Linked DNA regions of Homo sapiens: all the other regions are linked to region 1. Evidence: promoter capture Hi-C in 16 types of primary human blood cells and fetal thymus (Javierre and others, 2016). All regions are on one chromosome and are shown on one strand. Each heading gives the region's core, a stretch centred on a gene start or on the middle of the fragment in contact. The rest is flanking DNA. Distances are from core to core; before and after follow the strand shown. Region 1 holds the start of IL6 (interleukin 6). Region 2 overlaps HYCC1 (hyccin PI4KA lipid kinase complex subunit 1). Region 3 holds the start of KLHL7 (kelch like family member 7).

Region 1 (2,933 bases), core at 301-2,800:
GTTGTTTTCTGCCAGTGCCTCTTTGCTGCTTTCACACATGTTACTCTTGTTACATGTCTGGGAAAGAATACCAGAATTGTTATCACCTAAGTGTCCCTAAAACAAACACCACTAGAGGGCCTTTTCATTGTTCAACCACAGCCAGGAAAGTCTCTAAGAAAAATGAAGCTACAACTCATTGGCATCCTGGCAAGCAAATTCCAGTGGAGTGGGGGCACACTTGGGTTCAGTTCCAAGCTCACCTGTGACTTTAGGTGTGTTACTTAATCCTGAGTCTCAGTTTCCTTATCTCCAAAAACCTTCCTTGCAAATTTGTTTTGAAGATTAGACACAATATTTATTTAAAGTGCCTGGCACACAGTAGATACTTAATAACAGCAATTTTGACAATAATTAGGAGAATATAATTCAAGCCATAGAATGTTCCAGCAGGAAGGATCTATGAGATCACCTAGTCCACGCCCAATTTTACTGATGGAGTCCAGAGGTGGTAGGGAATTTACCCAAGATCACAAGGCTGGTTTGGCAGAACCAGAATTCGAGTGTGGGCTCCCAATCTCCCCTCCTGTGTTCTTTTCTTTCTACCAAACAGGACCAAAATACCTTGCATTGAAAGTGGGGAGATGCTTTAACCTATTTATGATTTGCCACTTTGGTGGGCTCTGAGGTATGAATCTTAGCTGGAATGGCTTTGAGGAATCCTAGCCATTGAGTTTACATAACCAAAAAGTACTGCAACTGCTCTGAGAAGCTGAACATGCCTTTCAGGTGGCACTTTTCTAGTCCTTCCAAAGCCCGGGGGACAAAAAGGAGCTTCACAGACCTAATTTTTTGGAAAGGGAAAAGGAAGCCCTGAGAAGCAATAACCCTCAGCTCATGCCAAAGGTGGGCATGGATTTCAGACCCATTCTGCATTTTCCAGAAAGGAAAGGAACTTCCTGACACCAGCAAAGGATAAATACAGAAGTCAGTCTAGTCGGCCCCGTTGGCCTCAAATCTACAGTGCTCTAGAACCCAGCAAAGACCTCCTAATGCAGGCAGCCCCCGGCCACACGCAGGGGCAAGGGGAACGCATGCGCACCGGGCCCTTCAACCCCATCGCCAAGCCTACCCACCTCCTTTCTCAGGGCTGAGATGCCGTCGAGGATGTACCGAATTTGTTTGTCAATTCGTTCTGAAGAGGTGAGTGGCTGTCTGTGTGGGGCGGCTACATCTTTGGAATCTTCTCCTGGGGGTACTGGGGCAGGGAAGGCAGCAGGCAACACCAGGAGCAGCCCCAGGGAGAAGGCAACTGGACCGAAGGCGCCTGTGCCGGAGGGGAGCGAGCGCAGGGGTGAGCTGACAGCACAGCTGGGAGCCTGCCTCTGCTGCTGGCCGCCCGCCAGCCCTCCCTGGGCCACACACCCCTCCCTCACACAGGGCTCGACCGCCGCTGGCAGTTCCAGGGCTAAGGATTTCCTGCACTTACTTGTGGAGAAGGAGTTCATAGCTGGGCTCCTGGAGGGGAGATAGAGCTTCTCTTTCGTTCCCGGTGGGCTCGAGGGCAGAATGAGCCTCAGACATCTCCAGTCCTATATTTATTGGGGGTTGAGACTCTAATATTGAGACTCATGGGAAAATCCCACATTTGATAAATCTTTGTTGGAGGGTGAGGGTGGGGCCAGAGCGGGTGGGGCTGATTGGAAACCTTATTAAGATTGTGCAATGTGACGTCCTTTAGCATGGCAAGACACAACTAGGGGGAAAAGTGCAGCTTAGGTCGTCATTGAGGCTAGCGCTAAGAAGCAGAACCACTCTTCCTTTACTTTCTTTTTTTCTTTTATTAGTGACTCAGCACTTTGGCATGTCTTGACAAAGAGTAAAGCTGAAGTCATGCACGAAGTTTTACAAAGAGAAAAAAAATAAGCTAAAGCTATGTTTTTTGAAAAAAAAAAAATTTTTTTTCAGTGACCAGATTAACAGGCTAGAATTTAGCGTTCCAGTTAATTTGTATTTGTAAAAACCAAAGATGTTCTGAACTGAGTTTCCTCTGACTCCATCGCAGCCCCCCAAGCCTGGGATTATGAAGAAGGTAATACTACCAGTCATCTGAGTTCTTCTGTGTTCTGGCTCTCCCTGTGAGCGGCTGTTGTAGAACTGCCTGGCCATCCTCAAATTTCGTGCAGTTACTTCAAGGCGTCTCCAGGTGGAGTGTGTGACTCCTTTTTGCCACCGCGTGGCTTCTGCCACTTTCTTCACCTGCTTCAGCCCACTTAGAGGAGGTTGGCTGCTGCCCTGCCCTCTCCCAAGTGACCCCTTGGGAATCCTCCCAGTGAGGACTTTGCTCTCTGTGCCAGAGGTTTGCCTTGTGCTGCCAGTGCTCTCCCCATTGCCACTGAGTCTCTTCACCACTGTTTCACTGGGGCACCTGCATGGGCCCCAGGTCTCCTGGAGCCCTGAAATTACTGAAGCCCACTTGGTTCAGGGCAGAAAGGGGGAGAATACTACTCACCTCTTTGTTGGGGATGTCAAAGGAGGACCTTGTGGCATCTTGCAGAGTTTGTGTTTATCGCTCCCTCTCCCTGTAAGTCTTGATTTGAAATCAAAAGAAGCTAGAAGGAAACTACGGACGCAGGCACGGCTCTAGGCTCTGAATCTGCTTCCGCGTCGGCACCCAAGAATTTCTTATTGGGTCAAGCTGGTTCAGAAGCCCTCTTCCCTCAGGATGGTGTCTCTTGCAGGAGGATCCTTGGTCTCATGCAAATGGGCTCTAGACTAGGTTGTCCCTCCAGTCTCCAGAGACCCAGACAGCTCTGAGATGGCTTCAGGCTGAAACCAGACCCTTGCACAACACCAAAACACTTATTTACCAAACATGGTGTTACCTTCACAATCGGTTTCTTTGCTTTGCTAAGAAGAGATCTCTTCAAGATCGATAAAACAGTGACCTCTGT
Region 2 (2,860 bases), core at 261-2,760, 270 kb before region 1:
TTTCCTTTGCCATCTGGATTACAATTGCCTTGAGGACACAGATCATATTTTACTATTCTTTTGCTAATGGTGCAAACTAATAGAAACACTTTGCATTATACTCAGCAGGCAATCAAGGGCTTGCTGAATTATTAATGTTGCAATTTGAACATATACTAGTATTGACTTTTTGCATATACGACCTCCCATTCTATGTTTGTTTTTGCTACTTCTGTTTCTTTGCTCTTACTCTGACTCTGCCCAGCCTACTGTCTGGATAAATTATATGAACGGGCTGTCGACTTGACATCCTGTTCAGTGAATATGTAGAAAGCATTTCTAATCACCATGTTATTTAATATGCAATTGTGTGATAATCATGTTAATGAATGTGATTGAGGTAATTATTATAGTTCAGCACTTTTACACTGATCTCTTAAAATCTGTTAACATAAACTTTATCATTTGTATGTTAGTTATCAGGGCTTACTGAAGTTTGATTCACTGAGGTAATACTTGAATCACTTAGTATGTGCTGTAATTATATTTTGTAAAAGGTGGTGCAAACATTTTGGAAAGCTTTATTTCAGCAATAACTGCTCTTGTAGATTTTTACCCAATATTAAATGTAAAATAATTTGTTTGTGATATTTTTATATTTAGTGAAATACATAACATATTAATGGACTTTTAAGATTTCTTATAACATTCTAATAAGAGGTTTTCTAAGTCAAGATTATCTGCATCAATCAGTCTTTAAAATAATCAGATGATGCTGTTTTGGTTCACAGATGCAGTGCCAGTTCTCTCCTGGCAGCTTACCTTGCCAATGCATGCATTTCATTAATAAGAGCCCCAAGTTTTTCCTAGGTAGGGTGTAAAAGCTGAGGAGTGAAAGGAAGGTAGAGAAGAGAAGCATAGGCAAAGACATGGAGCCTGGAGTGGCATGGATTATTTTGGAGAATAGTGTTAAGTAAAATTTGGATAGGTAAATTATGACCATATTTTAGGGAAAGTTTGATGTAGAAGATTTGTGAGGTCTGATGTCATGGTGTGTTCAGGAGAAAAGAAGTTTCAGCAAGATTATATGGCAGCAACATGCATGGTGCACTGGAAAAGGGAAGAAATCAGGAGCCAGAAGGCTGTGTGATCAGCAGATGCAGAGGAAATAAGGGCCCAGACTCAGGGCGTTGCTGTGGAGATGGAGAGCAGATGGTAAATTTGACGGGCATTATAAAGGGTGAAATTTATTCTTCTATTCAATAAATATTTATTAGATACTTGCTGTATGTTACTTATGCTTATAGTATCTGGACTGAAATTTGCCTGTAGTTACTAATACAGTTTAAAACTTAAAAATTATGTTATATAATTTTTATTTGAAAAAAATTTTAAAAAATGTTGAACCACTGAGTCATGTGCTATGTTAATGTCAATAAGAAGTGCTCATCGTAGTGCCATAGTTCCCAGAGATCTCACCATTCTGTCTGCTCTTATCTAAAAGAAATCTAAATTGTTAATAAATTGTACATGATCTTAGTCAAGGCTATTTGAATGCTGGCTCAAAAAAGAGGGAGAATATTTGCAATAGAAATCCAAGAGCAGTAACTGTTGGCCTCAGAAGTTTCATAGCATTCTGTTTGCTGCATTCTTTTGGTCAACATGGTTATTAAAAAATAGTTCTTCCTAACTTCTCTTATTAGAGTCCAAATCAGATATCCTTTCCCTGGAAAAAATGTTCTTCTGAAGTCCTGGAGGATCTTGTCTATGACCATACCACCTTGAACGTGCCTGATCTTGTCTGAAGTCATGGAGGATCTGAGAAGAACAGGAAGATAGAAATGGGAAATGAGAAGAAAGAACTTCTTACCTTCTAATTGTTCTAGCTTTTCCAACAGAAACACACTGGGCTGGTTGCCACAGCACACTGATATCCCAACATGATCTTATTTGTCCTTGGGGTAGGCAAAAGATGGTTTAGCCAAAAACCATTTTATAGAGTAAAAACCTATGTTCTATTCTTGATAATCAGACACTTGTTTTGTGATTTTTGGGGAAAATAGGCCTAAGTAATAGGCCTTTGGAAAGACTTCCCAAACCTCTCTTACTATGAATTATATTACTTCTCCTGGTGCCTTGAGAGGCAGCTTTATTTACTTGATGACCTAGGTAGGCAGTGAGGCATCAACACTTCTTTTTAAGCAACAGCACATATACTGTCCTCCTTCACAATTGATTGGTCAGTTTCTAAGCAGCAAAATCCTAAAATTAAATTAATTTTATTCTGTAACATAATCTGAACATTTCTCTCCATTCTGTTTTCCTGAAATTCACCCAGGAATTCTTGATAATCTTCTGGTAGCGCTTAATTTAACTACAGCAATGGCCTCATTGCATAGGAGAGAAGTTTAAAATTTCGTGATGTGTCACAATCCATTTATAGAAATTTGGTTGCTCTATAAATTTATAGAAACTTAAGCTTCATAATGATATATAAAACAAATGGTTATAAAAAGTTTTATAGTAGTTTGTCGTTAGTGCTTAATGGTGAAGGGGATGATGTAAAAGATAGGAATAAGGAAATTTTTAGAGTTTTACAGTGAAAGTTACAAATACTTTTAAAATATTCTTATAAAATAATTAAAATGTTATATGTCTCTGATGACAACACTAAAAGATAAATTTTGGTAATTGTTATTAATAACATAATGTGGGAATTGAAGAATAAGACATTTGACTTAGAAAGGTTTTATTGTACATTGAAAATATAAAAAATTAATGTTATACAGACTTATTGGGCTAGTGAAATACTACATAGACTCCTAGCAAGCCTTCTAATGTAATTTTAAATATTCTGCTCCGGAACATGTTTGGCAAAAAT
Region 3 (2,749 bases), core at 196-2,695, 380 kb before region 1:
AAGGCCAGGCCAGGAAAGATTTAAAAGCATTCCCACAGACTGCACTGGTGCACTGTAGCAGGAGCTGGTGAACAAAGACAAAATCCCAGCAGTCAGCGTTTGCTTATAGAAACCAGAAGTTAATATCTTCATAAAAATCTTAAATTCCTCTACTGTTGCCCATATTCCCAGCAGAACCACCAGACAAAGCAAACTAGGTTTTGCAGTTACACATAACTCACATCCTGCTTTGTCCCCTTGAAACAGGATCCCAGTCAACAAAACCCAAACATTCCCACAAATCTACTTAGATGTGTATTATCTATAAATAAAGCTTACAGAAAGGAAAAAGTGACTTTCTATGCTTATCGGTGTAGATGTTATGGAATTAAAAAAAAAAAAAGCCTCTTTGTTTCACCTTCGCCAGCGTTAAAATCCGTTCTTTTCATAACCCACCTTTCGCCGATGTGCTGCAGAATTTCACGAATGCACCACACACCAAGGACAGAACAAAGAGCTCCTCTTAATAACAGAGGCGCACAGTGCCCTTAGAAGATGGCATGGTATTTATCGATGGCTGCTTCTGCTCTAAATTAGCACGAACAGGAGGACTCCTCTTCAACTAGCTCCACCGGGGAACACAGGAGGGGGCGGGGATCCTTATTTAAGAGCAGCTGATGTCAGGCCAGCAACTCTCCTCCCTTTGGGGGCTTCGGTTTGGGCTATGCCAACGGGTTTCTTCACACAAGATCTCACGGCACCTTAAAACGGCTCGCCAATGGAAGGATCCTCGCCCCACAAAGAGATAACTAGGGCAGAGCTGTTACACAACCGATACCCGACGGCGAAAGCCAGCCTGAGGAGTCCCCCAGGAGTCTGACTTGGGAGCTACATCCTCGGCAGACGAGAAGCACTTTTGCTCGAGAATTGTTTTACGCGCCCCTCTACCAACTGCGGAATCGCTCGCCTGCGAAAACGGAAGGAGGGGCGAGGACAGAGAAAGAGGGGCGCGATCCACAGGGCGCGGGGTTCCACCCCGGGAACCAGGGGCCCGAGCCCCGGACCACCTCCCACCGTCGTCCGTCACTCCCACAGAGGCGGTACCTGTTTCCGCATGTTATTCATGACGCCCATGAAACCCGCCAACAATTTAGCTTCTTCCCGAGCAGCAAGTTTCTTCTCGGTCTTCTTCTTGCTGCTCTTCTCCACCCCAGAGGCTGCCATCCTCCCTCAGCTCGGTTCACGCCCGGGGCTCGCCGGGCCGGGCGAGGGGTCGCACTCTCTGGGCACACTGGGGATTCTATCGACCAAACACGGCGATCGGCAGTGCAGCTGCAGCGCCCAGCTCTGGAACGCGCGGCAGGCGGCGGTGGCTCGGCCACTGCCGAAAGACAAGGCCGGGCGGCCCCCTTAGAAACGCTCAGGGAGCGACGCTACCAACTGGGCTGCGTCCCCGGGCAGAACCCGAGCCCTGCCCAGGAGCCTGCGCACTTCGCGCAAGGAGGCGGGGGCACTATGAGGAGAGTCAGGGGCGGGGCCTGACACGTCACAGTGGCGCGCCGTTCCGAGCAATGAGACTGCAGGCACAGGTGCGGCCGGATTCCCTGTCGCTGTCCCGCGCTGAGTGAATTTTGCCTCGGAGCTGGTCCGAGGTCGCGCCTGCTCTTTTGTGTGCCCAAGGCAGATTTCCAGGTTTCGGTTACGTGATTATCTTTTTTTTTTTTTTTTTTTTGATAATTGGGTTGTGGAACATGCAAAGGTGTCTCCCATCAGTGTAAGGCTTCATGGGACAGGGTCGGTGTTCAGTGCAGTATCTGAGCCTGGTGTATGGTAGGCGCTCAATAAATATTAAATGATGAAAGGATATTACTGCAAGTTAAAGTCATGTTACACGGAGCACAAGATTTATTTTCGTGGGATTCATAACGCAAGAGCACACAGTCCCGTTGGTGTCTCCTTGGCGTGCAATGAATGTCTGCCTAACTAGGCTGGCTTACTGTGTGTTTACAACTGAAATCAGTTGTCAGTCGGTTCTAGAAATCTTCAGTTAGGCTTCTCTAAGTGTTTTACGGGAACACGGAACTCAATCACAGCCCTCATGGAAATGTTTTTTGTAACCATATTCTTTCTACTGTATAGTAATATACAGGATTATTTGAAATTGTACATTATTTAACATTATGAAAACTTTATATCTCATTGGTTTTCCTCCTCGGTCTATATAGGACTATACAGAGACATTTTATGTAAAATAATTTACACCATTGAGGCTTTTTTTTTTTTTTTTGGAGGCAGGGTCTCGGCCCTGTCGCCCAGGCTGGGGGTGCGGTGCAGTGGCTAATCATAGCTCACTGAAGCCTCAGCACTCCTGGGCTCAAGCAATCCTCCCATCTCAGCCTCCCAAGTAGCTGAAACTACAGGCGTGCAACACCACTCTGGGCTAAGTTTTAATTTTTAAATTTTTTTGGTGGTGGTGGTGGTGGTGGTGGTGGTGGTGAAGAGGTCACACTATGTTGCCCAGGCTTGTCTCGAACTCCTGGTGTTATGCAATCCTCCCGCCTAGGCCTCCCAAAGTGCTGGGATTACAGGAATGAGCGGCCAGGCCTGGCCCACAGTATACTTTTCTTGTTGAGGACAAACCATATAGCATAATCCAGATGAAAGAGCAAGCTATATATACGCCTCAATTTTTACAAAAGAGTAAGATACTTATGTCTCTGTACTCTTTATCTTTCTTCTATTAATCTAGAGGTTCTCAGATGTGCCTCTA

The links. The method cuts DNA at HindIII sites, captures the fragments that hold promoters and counts their contacts. A CHiCAGO score of 5 or more calls a contact.
Region 2: a fragment that was not itself captured here is called in contact with the fragment with the promoter of IL6 in region 1 in 1 of 17 cell types (total B cells); the score reaches 5.4 in total B cells.
Region 3: a contact is called between the fragment with the promoter of KLHL7 here and the fragment with the promoter of IL6 in region 1, in 11 of 17 cell types (M2 macrophages, M1 macrophages, total CD4 T cells and 8 more). The highest score is 10.2, in M2 macrophages.

Annotation. Positions count from the first base shown.
Region 1 is chr7:22,725,817-22,728,749 of GRCh38, reverse strand. IL6 (interleukin 6) reads right to left here and starts at 1,550. Exons shown (of 5, transcript NM_000600.5): 1 at 1,469-1,550; 2 at 1,116-1,306; 3 at 1-57. The coding sequence starts at 1,487. It overlaps IL6-AS1 (IL6 antisense RNA 1), which reads left to right and starts at 1,130. Exons shown (of 2, transcript NR_131935.1): 1 at 1,130-1,182; 2 at 2,045-2,933. RefSeq lists an enhancer at 901-2,100 and a silencer at 2,086-2,135. The HindIII fragment of the contact is 10,105 bases long and covers 1-2,933 here.
Region 2 is chr7:22,996,984-22,999,843 of GRCh38, reverse strand. The region is part of intron 1 of HYCC1 (hyccin PI4KA lipid kinase complex subunit 1); the gene reads left to right. Among named protein-coding and RNA genes, the nearest start is that of HYCC1, 16 kb to the left of the region's middle. The HindIII fragment of the contact is 1,900 bases long and covers 561-2,460 here.
Region 3 is chr7:23,104,481-23,107,229 of GRCh38, reverse strand. It overlaps KLHL7 (kelch like family member 7), which reads right to left and starts at 1,445. Exons shown (of 11, transcript NM_001031710.3): 1 at 1,084-1,445. The coding sequence starts at 1,203. KLHL7-DT (KLHL7 divergent transcript) reads left to right here and starts at 1,527. Exons shown (of 3, transcript NR_046220.1): 1 at 1,527-1,671. RefSeq lists enhancers at 499-578, 284-1,270, 1,059-1,338, 1,459-1,648, 1,271-2,257. The HindIII fragment of the contact is 5,093 bases long and covers 316-2,749 here.